Linked DNA regions of Homo sapiens: region 1 is linked to region 2. The links are contacts of gene promoters, found by promoter capture Hi-C in human tissues and cell types (Jung and others, 2019). All regions are on one chromosome and are shown on one strand. Each heading gives the region's core, a stretch centred on a gene start or on the middle of the fragment in contact. The rest is flanking DNA. Distances are from core to core; before and after follow the strand shown. Region 1 overlaps ZNF217 (zinc finger protein 217). Region 2 holds the start of BCAS1 (brain enriched myelin associated protein 1).

What was found. Contacts are between HindIII fragments. The study calls those that stand out against the background at their distance.
Region 1: a contact is called between a fragment that was not itself captured here and the fragment with the promoter of BCAS1 in region 2, in 1 of the 25 tissues and cell types used here (hippocampus).

The regions. Positions count from the first base shown.
Region 1 is chr20:53,583,510-53,590,986 of GRCh38, forward strand. All of the region lies in intron 1 of ZNF217 (zinc finger protein 217), which reads right to left. Among named protein-coding and RNA genes, the nearest start is that of ZNF217, 6.6 kb to the right of the region's middle. The HindIII fragment of the contact is 3,380 bases long and covers 1-2,940 here.
Region 2 is chr20:54,068,008-54,075,482 of GRCh38, forward strand. It overlaps BCAS1 (brain enriched myelin associated protein 1), which reads right to left and starts at 2,587. Exons shown (of 13, transcript NM_001366298.2): 1 at 2,426-2,587. It overlaps MIR4756 (microRNA 4756), which reads right to left and starts at 478; the gene lies at 401-478. RefSeq lists an enhancer at 1,306-2,180. The HindIII fragment of the contact is 15,029 bases long and covers 1-7,475 here.

The DNA.
Region 1 (7,477 bases), core at 1-2,500, 490 kb before region 2:
CAACAGCCTCCCTAAATCTAAAGACTATAAGAACTGTGAAAATTAAGATGAAAAAATTAAAACACTTTAGTAAACTATTTTAAATCCAGTGTATACAAAACAATTTAAAATTTGTTTCATATACAAACAAATCTGCATCCAAGAAATCTAAGTGCCCAAACACCCCCTTAGAGATTTTGCACATACAGAGGTCAACAAAATGAGCACAGAAATACAGAAACTTTTCCTAAAATCCCCATTCAAGAAATACTTAACACCTCAGAATGGTCACTCATCTTGGCCAGGGGAACCCTGATATATTTTGGTTCACTGGATATTCGAAACCTCAATCCACTGTTCAAATCCCAGCTTGCTTTCAACGACTTTCTGCCTTCAACAAGCACTGGGTGGGGCTTCCTAGTCCAAACAACAAATAGGGAAAGACATACACAAAGCTCCTTTGTGAATGTATAGATTTAAAATAAAATCCTCAACAGGGCTGTTTCAACATGGCTTAGTCTTTCATCAGAAAATGGGCCCTCTCATTTTTTTAATCTACCTTTCACATCATGCACTGGCCAGGTGGAAAATTACTTTATTTAGCTCTGCTGCTTCTGGTTTAGAAGCTAATTTTCACTCCTGGAGAAGAATTAACTTCTAAAGCCAATACCCTCTGCCTTTATGGCAAACATTGGATAGGCATTGTTTTTAAATAGTCCCAACTACTTAAAACTTAAGTCAGTTAATTCCACCCAAGAAAACCAAAAGGCATGCAAACTACTCCCAGCAAAGTAACCTTAAAAAACAAAAGCATACTTTACTTTCCTCCCTCTCTCTACTTCCTTAAAGAGCAAGGAAGGCCTGCAGGCTCAGAGAAGCCAAGGAAACATCTCCTCCTTTACACTCCGAAATAGAAATTCTCATACTCCTTGTTATCTTTAGTTTTGAATAAACTAGATCTTTAACATTAAGCTTTTCTAAATAAGACTGCAGATCAAGGATTAGGGTAAAGGAAAGAATGTCCTGAAGTCTTTTCTTTGTTGCTATCACAATGGAGGATCAACACATGGGCTGGTGACCAGCTTGGTGTGATATAATAGAACACTCCAGAGACCCGAGTTCTAGTCACAACCTTCAAGTTGTCACTGCCACATACCACATCTTTCTATTATCTATTTAACGCAGTTGGTTAAACTATAGGATGGCCTTTACAGTTCCAATATTCTGTGGTTCTGGGGATAGAGCTACACATTGAAAAGAATATTCAATTACTCTGCTAATCAGAATGTGAAGTGACTTAGGTTTCTATACATAGAAGCTTAAGTTTCATTTGCTTATTCAACAAGTATTTACTGAATGCTAGCGTCCCAGGCAAGGTTTTAACTGAATAACAGCACATACCCTAGAAAAACAGTTATCAAATTCTGACAACGCTGTTTTCCCTGGCCAAGAACAAAGACTCATTTATTTGAGGTCCTTCCTACTTTTAGATGCTAAAATACGCTTATTTTTTAAAAAATCAAATAGTGGCAATAGGCAATAGTGGAGTTTTTTGGTTTTTTTTTTAATGTCCTTATTTAGCAAAATCAAAGTTCAGTGAGAATTTGAAAAAAAAAAAAAAAAAAAAAAACTAAGTTAGTCCCTATGTCAGCTCTCAACATTATTACTGTATTTTAGAAACTTGACTAATACGTGAAACTGTAATTTTGGGGAACTCCACTTCTCTACTGACATCCTTTAGAAAAAGAGACACCAGCTCTACAGTCTCGGGATTAGAAATATGATGTGAGGACGGGTATAGTGGCTCACACCTATACTCCCAATGCTTTGGGAAGCCGAAGTGGGTGGATCACATGAGGCCAGGAGTTGGAGACCAGCCTGGCCAACATGGTGAAACCCCTTATCTGCTAAAAATACAAAAATTAGCTGGGCATGGTAATACACACCTGTAATCCCAGCTATTTGGGAATCACTTGAACCCAGGAGGTGGAGGTTGCAGTGAGCCAAGATCGCACCACTGGTCCAGCCTGGGCAACAGAGCAAGTCTCCCCTCTCCGCCCAAAAAAATAAGAAATATGATGGAGTGTTATTTCCCACTCAGGGAAACAGCATAACTTAGTTACTGAAAATATTTATTAATAGAAAGATGTTTTGGTTCCAATTCTCAATTATCTGGGTTAAAGAAGTTACCATCACTCTCCACACAAGACCTTGTAGGATTATTTCACTGCGGTGAAGGACAATGAAGGAGGTTCAGTGGGAAACGATCTTAGGACAGAGGAAGCTTCCACTTTGCCTGGGAGGGTGAACAGCCTGGGAGACCTGGAGATGAGGGCAGGCATTCTAGGCCAAGGGGTCTTCTTGTGTGGTCAGATGGGGAAGGAAACCCTCCTGGCAAAACAGCAGAATTCTTTCTCCAGGAAAGCTTCTGAGACTGACTCTAATAGTCAATTGTGACCAACTGTCCTAGGCTCCCAGGGCCACAGCAATCCTTAGGCACCCCAAATGTGCCATCCCTGACTACCCAGCACACCCTACCCCCCCAAAGTATTGTGACAGCTCAAGGATGACTTCCTCTGAAAACCTCTGTCCAGATCTAAAACCATCCTGTTTGTTTGCTTGTAACTGTCTTTTTCTAAAAGTAACACCTCAGGATGGAGACTGTTGCCTTGTCCACTGCTGCCCCCAATGCCTGGAACAAGGTGCCTGACACAGGATTAGGCACTCGACACATAGCTGGTGAATAAATGTCACGGAATTAGCACACGTGTAGAATCAGTACACACGTTTGGCCACAGTCACTAACCGTAACTGATCAGAAATTAAAATTAACTTGCATGTTCATCAAAACTTCTACATGGCTATCAGCGACTGCCATCTAATTGCCATTCTGCAACTTCAAGAGTACAATTTCAAGAGCGTAATAAAAAAAATCGTATTTAATCACACCATAAAGTTGATCAGCACAAGCAAAAAAAAAACTGCACTATTTGGATTTATACTCACTCTCCTTATGACCCTCCAAAACAAAAATGCTGGGCATCCTAGGGCTATCTCTGACAGCAAATGCCTTCAGCTCTTGACTTAGAAACTGCTAACACACTAGACAAAACACTTCCTTAAACTCTAAGACAATGAATAATACTTTAAACCAGGTTTACATCCCTTAAAACCAATTTGCTCATCAGTAATCGTTAAAGTGGTTGTAACAATAAAGACGTTAATAACAGAATACAGCAAAATAGAAATTCTAATCTACTAACAGCAAATCACCGTTCCAATTGAATGGGGTGTGTGCACAAACACAAGCCTTCCCAGAAGCCTCCAGCTCTCCACACTCCTGCACACAGAAGGCAGCAGTAAACCGATGGCACTGCTGATAAAGTAAATTGTCTTTCTTGACAAAGAACTGGAGGAGAAAAGCAGGATATTATAATCCAACACTATAATCTAAATGCTTCTAGCTTGCAAGAAAGTGAGCGTTATGAACACGCTAAGCTTACTGAAAAGTACTTCACAAAAATGTTTTCCAATGTTTAAAAACATTTTAAAATCTTTACTCAGGTAAACGACAGAACTTAACTCATATACCCCCTAACACCTAAGGCAAGTGGGCTATTGAGTATAGCCATATTTTGAAAGAAACTTCTATTGGGATTATTTCAGTAGATACTTTTAAAATTTACCAGAGCGTAATCTTTGAAATCCAGTAGGAACCATATTGCTAGAAAAGGCTGGAATAGAAGTGTGATGTTCTTTAGGTCACTAATTACACACTGATTTGTGACTAAAGCTACCATGAATTCTACCACTACCTGTAGATCTTGAAATCAGCAAATAGGACACATTCTACACTGCTTAATAAAAAGCACAGTAATCTGTGCTTAAGTACAACTAACTAGGTACAACAGCCACTTTGCTGACAATTACTGTAACTTGGGAATATTTTTCTTTACATCCTGATGTACTCAAACTGTTAACTTTTAGAAACAGCACAGCCTCTGTTTCTTCTGATTAACAGGTTATCTTACATTGTTGATATGGAATATGCATCTACCATAATACAGCTTTGAATAAGGTATTCAAAGTCCTCAAAAACACAGAAAAATTATATTTATACACAATTTGTCATACTGCTAACAAAGCTACTTTTTCCCAAGTTACTGAGGTGTCCAAATAAGGAGTTATTAAAAAATTCAACTTAAATTGCTATTCTCTGGCCAATGCATTTGTACCCTGAAAACTACAAAATTATCTCCAAGACCTGGCTAGAAGTTTACATTTTCTCTGAAAGTTTTTCCTCTGTCTTTTACGCACAGTATTTTTTCTTAATCTGACAAGTGGAGAAAACTCTGCATAGCCATCTACTAACAATCAAAAAGCTACAGGTTTTTTTATTTTTTATTTTTAATGCTCTAAATTCTTCAACACTGTTTCAAGGAAATTACTAGGGGTCACACCCATGAGGCTAAATGGTCAACCCAACTTTCCTAATTTAGCTGTGGAAAGATGCTTCCAAGTTAAGCGAAAGAAAAAGATTGGAATATTCAAAGTTTAAGGTTACAACCTAAACTCTTCAACTTGGGAAGCTTGTAAAGGAAATAATTTCATTTTGCTGAAATTGTTCATAAATTACCAATTTTAAATAGGATTAGAGACCAAAGTACTATAAAAATATAATCATATAGCATATTTGAGTGTCATTAACTAGAAACTGCCTGAATTCATCTTAAATCAGTTAAGGTCAGTTAAGGGATCTTAGTAAGAACTTAAAGTATAACATACTAGTTTTAGTTTCAATATTAACAGATACTGTCATCTGCAAAGTGGTTTTTAAAAACATCCTGATCTGAAAAAAAGTTATAATATAAGGAAAGTGAATTTTTAAAAACTTTAATTAAGCAAGATTAAGCATTGCTATCCGTTTCTCCTATTACTACTACTTAACCAGTACAACCTTAAATATCTGTAAAAATTTGACAGGCCTAACTGCACCAAAAAAAAAAGATTTCAGCAAATTAATTAACTGTTAATAAACTGTTCTATCTTTACCTGCACTAACTCTCTGTAATGAAAACACTGAACGTGTGTATACACACATCTATCTATATATATATATATATATATATATATATATACACACACACACACAACTATGCCCACTACTAGACCACTACACCATACCACTTCTTCCAATGAGCGCTCTCAATTAAACACAATTCAAGTAACCTAGTTAAATACAAGCTTAGGCAATGCCTTTTAAGGCATAAGATCGTTCTTCTGCAAGATTTAAATATTCCCCTCCCCATCCTATCTTTTGCTGACTACATACTAAAGTTGTATATCTGGCTCTTTCCAGTCACCTGTTTGCTTTCAAAATCAAGGGGAAAAGTCTCCTTTCAATTAGTAATACAATCATTGTTCAGTAGATTTATAAACTGAAGAAAAACTCTATATTGATTACAAAAGAAACAAAAACACTTCAGTATAACTGAGATGCTTTGTTATCCTTATTTGATAGAGGTAGAAGTAAAAGTAACTATTACTCCTAACGCTGATTCAAGAAATGTCTAGAGTCTACATTTCCAGTCCACTTAACTACATTTTAAATTCCAAAGGTTTCCAGACACACCAGAAAATAATGGAACACCAATACAGAAACACTACACGAGTCTGTTAAAAACCTAGCTTCTGAGTCTGGGGGAGCTTTTCTATAGGAAGTACAGTCATGTGGAGGTCAGAAACAAGTTTTGTAAAGCTTAATAAGAACAAAGGCTAAGTAAGGAATCCAACTAACTCTCTCATACAACTTCTTCAGCTGTCTTTTCAGGTTTAGTAATTTTATTTCTCAACTTTATCATAAAATTACCAAACTGTCCCCAAATTTCCAGTAACTCAATTATGCTGATACCCTGGACAGGAAGTAATGGAGATGTTCAGAACAGTCAGTCAACAAATGTTCAAATGGAAAGCATTCCAACGTTAAATATAAAAGGGTAATATGTGGCGGCAGCTGGCTAGCGGGGGCTTCCCCCCTATTTATCTGGAAGATAGATGTGTACAAGAATTGAGCATGTCATCGTGAGCTGCAGATTTTAGGAAAGAATGGTCCCTGTTCTTCCACTTCCTTAAAGTCAGATTTCTATCTCTCCTCGTGGTCTAAATTCAAAAACCTTTGCCCCAGATACCACTGCAAATTTGTCTGTTATTACTGGTTGGGGAAAAATAACCCAGTTCACCTTACTCCAAAAACATGAGCATTTCAGAAAAGTTTTTATACTGCCTCTAAAATGAGGCCATTAAGTGATATTCAATAATCAGGCTTCCTTCACCCGAATTTAAGAAATTTCCTGCCGTCTTTGTGTAATACATTTTTTTTTTCTTCCATGTGCGTTTAAATTTTAACACCCCTCCCCCCCGCAGAATCTGGAGAAGAGGTGTGCGGATCAAGACCCCCCCGCCCGCCATTGTCTCAAGTTTAATTTACATGCTGTAACCAAACCCTTCCCTCTTTAGAATATTTAACAAGATTGAGATTCCTTTAATTCCATGTTGGTAGCTGTTCTGTAAATACCTTTCAGGTTTTTATTTTTTAACATCCCAGTAATCTAAAAACTATTCTGTTTTTAGATTTCAATTGTAGTAACTGGATTTAAAATCTTATTACATTTATTTTATTAGTGGAATACTCAGTTTATGCAACTGTCTCATGTTTTTCATTCCTACTTTCTAATTCTAAGGCTTGAAAACAGCCATTGCTCAGTCCTTCAGCTTCACCTTCCCAATTCATTCATTAAACATTCCGCTCAGGGATTAAACTGAAATGGGAAATTAGGAAGGAACGATTTAAAACAAATCATACCCAGCAACCTCAAAATCTATAACATACAGGCCATATGGGCATACAGGAGATGGGACAATTTGAATTTTTTTTTTAAGCAAATGGAAACAAAGCTTCATATAAAACATAAAAAGGGTCCAATCATTTACTTTCAAATAGAGTCAGCTAAAAGTAGCTCCTTTTTTAAAGTGGCATCTTTCAGGCAGTCAAGAGTCATTAAAACTACTCCAAAGTTCTTATCAACCAATATCATGTTTGTGACAACTGTGAGAAAAGAATGTAATTTTATAAAGTGGGAAAACAGCACATCTTTTGGGACCCCTGAGGCTCTAATCAGGCATCTCAGAATTAAGAGTGCTCCAGGGTTGGGAAATGGCTACCCTGCTGTGGCAAAAACATGCCATTTCATAATAAATGTTGTTAAGAGAGAAAAAAGTGATTAGCATGTATCTGCAATGAGGAGATAGAAGGACTTAGTCATTGCCAGGCCATTATATTCCTTAATTATTTCATCAGTTTATAAGTGACTTGATGATTAAGTCTTATTTTCAGATTTCCTCCAAAACAAGTCCACTGGAAGGGGATTAGGGGCTCCTACTCCTCCCTGAAGTTTTCCTGCCAAAAATGGAGGCTCACAAAGAAAAATGCAAATCTACC
Region 2 (7,475 bases), core at 1,337-3,836:
CATGTGTGTGCCCGCACAGTGCTAGGAACACGGCAGCTATTATCAGGAGTGCCAGGTACAGTGCTACAGGTTGCCTCCTGTACAAGGGGACACAGGGAACTGAAATCCAGTCCTCACTGAACTGCCCAAGCCCTGATTCCTGGTATGGGACTTTGTGGGTCCAGGGGCAGGGGTGCCTTGATCAAAATCACCTTGGATGTTTTAGGGCTGCTTGGTGATTGATGTTTTGCTTTCGGAGTACTTAATTATGTTTGCACAAACGGATGGTAATCCTAAAAATCTTAGAGCTCGCTCTCATAGTCTTATTATTGCACCAAACATTGTTAAGTGCATGATAATCGCAGGTAATTTTAATTGGAGGCTTACTATGTGCCAGGCAGCACCAGGGTGAGCATAGCAGGACACAAAATATAGGAAGGCAACCATCTCTGGTGCAGAATCGGCAGCAGAGAGTGAGCGCCTCCCTGCATTTTATCCCCCAGGTGCTCACTGGCTTCACCCTTGCCCTGACCCTGGTGCCAGGCACTTCACACACATTGTCTCCTTTTCCCTTGCAGAGTCCCATTATTCCCTGATTGCACAGATAAAGAAACCAAGGCTGAGCAATGCCATCCCCTCATCTCACGAACGTCACCTCCATGAGGGTAGGCACCTTACTAGTCCTACTTGCCCAAGAGTAGCAGTCAGAAAGCTACGGGGAGGCACACCTGGGGTTTGAACCTGGGTCCACGTGACTCAGGCACTCAAATCCTGAACTGCTTCAGGGCAGGGCACTTGGCTTGAAGAGAAGCTGCAGACACAGAGACAATCAAGTCACATCTAATACTCCAGCAGGACAGATGAGCCTGCAAGGTGCAAAGGTACCCCCGCCCCCAACCCAAAGCCTTTTTCAATTCCTCTCCCTCCACATCTCTTGTCATGGTAAAGCAGGCAGAATCCATGGGCTTTAACGGGCCCATTGCTTTTCCCAAAGCTCATGCCTTTTTCCTAAAAACAAAACCCTTCTGGGTTCCAGAACTCTTTGGAAAAAAAGAATCTTCTGTGATTTGGGACATTGGTTTGTTCCCCCACCCTCACTTAAATGAGAAACTACTTTAGCATGCCCCGCCCCGTCTGTTGTCTTTATTTAGGAGGAAGCACCCTCTACATACCCTGAGTATATACACCCAGGGCCTGAAGCTGCTGTGATCAGCTCAGGATCCCCAGGAGGCTGAGGCGGATCAGGCCCTGGACTCCGGGGGAACAATGTAAGGGACACCAAAAAGCTCAGCCATGGAGATGAATAGTATTTTAACATGAAATTTGTGAAAATCAAAATTACCGCTGTTCCTGATCTTATCTTTCTGTAACATGTTCATAGTTTGTTCATCACGGGTGTCTTGCCATTAATTCTGACTTTTAAAAATGTTGTGTTAACATACCGTTTATCTCCATGACTGAGTTTTTTGGCATCCCTTACATTTCGTGCCCAAGGTGAGAGTCTCACTGGCTGCACCCTCATCCCAGGCCCGACTGGACTCCAGTTCCACAGCATCCTTTCCATGAGACCTGGAACCAGATGCAGCTCCCTCTTCACCCAGCTTCATGTTCCTAGTTGTAAAATGGAGACGATGGTAACAGCGAAAACAAGAACCACAGCTAAGAGTTACTAAGTGCACAGGTATTTACGGGCAGTAGAGTCCTCTCAGCCCTTTGATCTCAGTACTGTTATTAGGTTCACTTTACAGATGAGGAAACTGAGGCCCAGAGGGCTGAGGGAACCTGCTCCAGGGCACCCAGCCAGCCCAGGGTGGAGCTGGGGCTGGCATCTGGCGGTGTGGCTGCAGCGCACCCGCATTCTAATCGCAATGACTCTTCCAGGCAGGAAACTGGTTCAGAGGGAGATGTAAACAGCAGGGGTCCTGAAGCCAGGATTTGAATCAGCAGCTGCCTCATAGGGTGGTCTTGAGCGTTAAATAAGATTCACAAAAGGCACTCCACAAGTCCTTTTTCTTGTCCTCCCACTTCTTTAGGCAATGCCTGAGGTGAAGGCTCAGATTCCACTCGGCTATGGGGCATTCTTGCCCTGACGGATCCCCAAATCACACAGCCTATCCCTCCATCCAGTGACTTCTCCCCATGTCCTGTGCTTGAAATGACCCTCAATAGTTCCACCAAATAGGAGTTATTTATGTGGCTATGCGCCTAACACTGACCACATTGTCATTTGCTCCTTGTAAAACTAAAAACTTTGAGATGAGTGCTATCTTTGGGTCCATTTCACAGATAGTGGAACTGAGGCTTACACATATCCAAGGCCACACAGTGAACAGAAGGCAGAGCTGGGATCAAACTTGACCCTGTCTGACCCCTGGCCTCTATATGACACCGTCTACCACAAACAGCAAACCCTCCAGCCATGCCTAAAGGATCTGAAAGCAGTTACCTGCTGAGCCCCTGTGGGAGTATCTTCAGTCCCCTCGTGTCACCCGGAGCTGCTCCTGCACAGGGTCCTGGGTCTCCAGTGCGTGCTGCCCAGTGCCTGGCTGTCGGTGGAGCCTGGCTCCCTGCACTTTGCTTCCTTGTGCAGAGCCTGCTGGCTGAATACACAGAGCAGGGCAAACACAAGCCTGGGTGGAGTCCTCCCTTCTCCCCGGACCATCCTGCAGAAACAGGTTCTCTTCCTGATGTGGGGCTGCCCTCCCAACTCCAATAAAAACTGAGCACCTGACTCCTCTCGCATTAATGCCTCCCTGGCACCCCAAGTATTCTACCCAGTGCCCCTCACCTACTGAGGCTGCCGGGTTGACCTGGGGAAGCAGTTTCCTTCCCCAGTAACCGTAGGTCATGGTCAGAGCAGGGAAAACACGTTCTGTGAGATTTTGTAGTTCTGTCTGCTGACTTCAGAACACCACCTCCACCACCACCTAACCACCTAATTGGAAGGAAATAGCTTCTCATCCACTCAACTACCCCTAGTCATGTAAACCTTATTCCCAAAGGGGTTTGGACACCAGAAATCAGGTAACCTGAGGGTGGTTTATTGCTCTGGAGACATACCATGATGTTGGAAAGGGCATTCTTTTTCTTTGCAGGCCAGAAATTCGACAGGCTATGCAATTTATTTAATTCAAGCAAGGATGTTGTTTAAAGTGTCTTACAAGGACATATACAATAGATTATGAGAGCATGAAATAACATGTAACAAAAGAAGATTGAAGAACAAAATTTGGAACATCAAATGAGAACAGGATCAAAAATAAATGCTCTTGTTGATTTACAGACTTGCTATGAAGGGTTTGCAGATATGGCTTTGAGCTTCCTAACAGCCAATGCAAGAAAGGAAACTTGATAAGTTACACTACTTAGTGCTCTGGAGAAGACATTCAAGAGAATTGCGACCAATAATTATTGTGGTTTTATTCAACAGTATACTCAGCTTAACCCCTATCATGAATACTTGTCAAGCACCAGGCTATATATATAAGCCAGAGTTTAAAGAGGTGAGTAAAAGATGCTGGGTCTCTACCCTTCTTGCACTCAGTGTCATTGGACATAGAATCCTGTAAATATAAACATAGAATTACAGGGTGTGATTCTCATTATAAAAGAAAAGCCAAGGCAGCTAAGGGAGAGAAATAGAGAGAGCTGGGGAAGGCCTCTTTCAGAAATCAACATTTAAGAAAAAAAATACTATTTAAATAAATGCTGAATACACAACCAGGCACACCGTAATTAGGGTTGTAAAGTCGATTCCAGCTCAGCACTGTACATGTCAATCTGGAATGTAGTAAACCCAATTATTAAGCAGCTGCCATGCACACGCTCTGTGCTGACCCAAGCCTGGAGGCTCAGGAGCTTGAGCTCTGGCCCTGGGTTGAGACAGACAAGGGCTCGGATCTTGATTCTTACTGATCGGCTGTGGAATTATGAGCAAGCTACTGTACTTCCCTAAGTCTCTGTCAGCCCCCTCAGCTGTGTGCTCCTTTGTGTTTATTTTGCATCTATTCTTGTATCCCCAACTCCTGGCACCCTGCAAAACGAGGATGGGGATCCCTCTATGATAGAGTAGGTACTCTGCAACTCCTGGCTGATTGGACTTGTTCATTCTTTTTTTTTTTTTTTTTAAGACGGAGTCTTGCTTTGTCATCCAGACTGGAGTGCAGTGGTGTTATCTCGGCTCACTGCAACCTCTGCCTCCCAGGTTCAAGCAATTCTGTTGCCTCAGCCTCCTAAGTAGCTGGGACTACAGGTGTGCACCACCATGCCTGGCTAATTTTTGTATTTTTAGTAGAGGTGGGGTTTCTCCATGTTGGCCAGGCTGGTCTGGAACTCCTGACCTCAAGTGATCCACCCGCCTCAGTCTCCCAAAGTGCTGGGATTATAGGCGTGAGCTAACACTCCCCATTGTCTTGCTCTCTTTTAAATTATACATGGCAGTAACTGCCATTTGGATGGCATTAGTCTTTGCAAAGCCTTTTGTGTTTATCCGTCCATTTCATTTATGTCCACAGTGAAATTAAGATCTTTTGCTCCCATTTTACAGAAGAAAAACATAAGGTTTAGGGATATGAGTGATTTAGGAGATTAAGAAAAATCATTCAGGTGGGGGCACTCAGCAGTGTGTCTGGCAAAACGTAGACCATCACCAAGCATCAGCTGGTGTAGTCAAGGGTGTTGATGAAGGATCTGGCAAACTGTAGACCATCACCAAGGATCAGCTGGTGTAGTCAGGAGTGGTGATGAAGGGTCTGGCAAACTGTAGACCATCACCAAAGATCAGCTGGTGTAGTCAGGAGTGGTGATGAAGGATCTGGCAAACTGTAGATCATCACCAAGGATCAGCTGGTGTAGTCAGGAGTGGTGATGAAGGGTCTGGCAAACTGTAGACCATCATCAAGCATCAGCTGGTGTAGTCAGGAGTGGTGATGAAGGATCTGGCAAACTGTAGATCATCACCAAGGATCAGCTGGTGTAGTCAGGAGTGGTGATGAAGGGTCTGGCAAACTGTAGACCATCACCAAGCATCAGCTGGTGTAGTCAGGAGTGGTGATGAAGGATCTGGCAAACTGTAGATCATTACCAAGGATCAGCTGGTGTAGTCAGGAGTGGTGATGAAGGGTCTGGCAAACTGTAGACCATCACCAAGCATCAGCTGGTGTAGTCAGGAGTGGTGATGAAGGGTCTGGCAAACTGTAGACCATCACCAAGCATCAGCTGGTGTAGTCAGGAGTGGTGATGAAGGGTCTGGCAAACTGTAGACCATCACCAAGCATCAGCTGGTGTAGTCAGGAGTGGTGATGAGGCAGGACCGGCTACATAATCTGCTGAACCCAGTGCAAAACAAAAACGATGAGCCCTTTGTTCTAAAAGCAGGGAAAAGTACCGTTAAAGGTATGAAACATAAAGCTGTTTTCTCTCCTTCCTGGTCTCTTTCTCTACCTGTCATGTATTTTACTTATTATTTGAAGTCATTCTAAGGGAAGAAAAAATAAAAATGTAAGTGATCAGCGTGAGTTTTGCCATCCGTCTTTAGATCAAGCCATGCTGGTTTGAAATGCAATGAACTCGAGGGCAGAATCACCAAAATCATACGACTTGTATTTTGTAGTTAGTTACGGGGCCCCCGTAGTCTGTTCTCACTAAAACAGTGTAAACGCTGCATAGAAGTCATCATTCAACTGTTTTTACTCTACCTCTGGATACTCACCCATTCTACTAATGCTCTCTATCTTCAGTTTATTGATGAATAAGGAAAAATCAAAAGAAAAAGAAACTCTAAGCTGCCCTATATTTCTGTCTTGCTATGTTATCATTTTCAGCACAAGTGGTTGGCCCTTACAGGGAGGTAACCTGGGTAAGAAAGGCTAGGATAGGATTCTTTTGTTGTTTGTGTTTCTTAGAATGTGCTGCCTTTTTTCTGTATTGAAGATAATTTCTGATTTGCGTGGAAAGCCTGGACTCTTGGGGTGTCAGTGCCTCCACATACTCAATTGCAGCTGTAACTCACATGTGTTTTACTTGCTTTGAGGCTTACTGAATAGTCATGAACTCACTGGCATTCTCTGCTCATGGGCATCATGGATGTTATATGTGAATAGGTGGCAATGAACAGTAGACTTGCATATTGCTTGTATCTCATGACTATGCTTCATTGTCTCATCAGATTTTACTTACTCAACCCAAGTTCAAAGATAACACTACAACTGACCCTTGAACCACAAGGGTTTGAACTGCATGAGTCCACTTAGACATGGATTTTTTCCCTTCTTCTGCCACCCCTGAGACAACAGGACCAACCCCTCTTCTTCCTCCTCTTCCTCAGCCTATGCAATGTGAAGATGACAAGGAAGAAAACCTTTATGATGATCCATGTCTACTTAATGAATAGTAAATATATTTTCTCTTCCTTATGATGTTTCTTAGAATGCGTTGTCTTTTTAATGTTCTTAATACCATTTTCTTTTCTCTAGCTTACTTTATTGTAAGAATGCAATATACAAATGTAATACATATAACATAGAAAACGTGTTAATACATAAAACATAGAAAACATGTTTATGTTATTAGTAAGGATTCTGGTCAACAGTAGCTTATGAGTAGTTAAGTTTCTGCAAAGTCAGAAGTTATACTTGTATTTTCAACTGCACAGGATTGATGCCCCTAATCCCCGTGATGTTCAAGGGTCAGCTGTGTTAAGATTTTCAATATGGCAACTGTAGAGCAATAAACCAAGCTCAGGGCCCTGGGTGGAGGTAGCAACAAGTCTTCAAAAGTGCAAACTTCTTGGTGGAAGAATTTACTTCCCGGTGTCGACAAAGCAGGGAGTTCACTAAGAGTAAAGTTTCTCCTTGCTACACAGACTTCAGGTGGTGCTCACCATCATGCTCCCAACTTGGTTTGCCTCTTAATCTTCTCTCTTTACGATCTCCACCCCTCTTCAAATATTGACAAGCACATGTGGCTGTCATCTCCTGTTATCAAACTGCTTTCCTGAAAATCTGGATAGAGCTGGTTTTTGAATCAAAAAGAGTCATTGGAAAACTGAAATTGGAAATCTCCCCAGGACCCTCTTTCAGACCTGCCCCTGCCTCTCTGCAAATATTCCGTCCTCCACCCAGGCTTCTCGCTCATGCTAAGCCATGTTGGCTGTGTTTTTGATCACTGAACCAGCGGAAGGCATGACCCAGCCATTATAGTGTGGTCATGCACCCAGGGCCTGTCAGTGACAGCTGGTCTCCTGCCAGTCAGGATGCCCACCCTGCTCCAGCTGAGACAGGAAATCTGACATGCACCTTTGTCTTTCTGTATGCCACCCATCACTTGGCATTTTTCAGATCACTTTCTTGTGCTTTATCTGATATGCTCCTTACTATAATCCTATGACATAAGAAGTATCTATTTGCCTGAGGAGGAAACAGTTTCAATGAAGACCAATGTCTTATGCTAAATTAAGCCATGGGCTAACACTGGGGGCAGATCTCTCAAGACTAAAC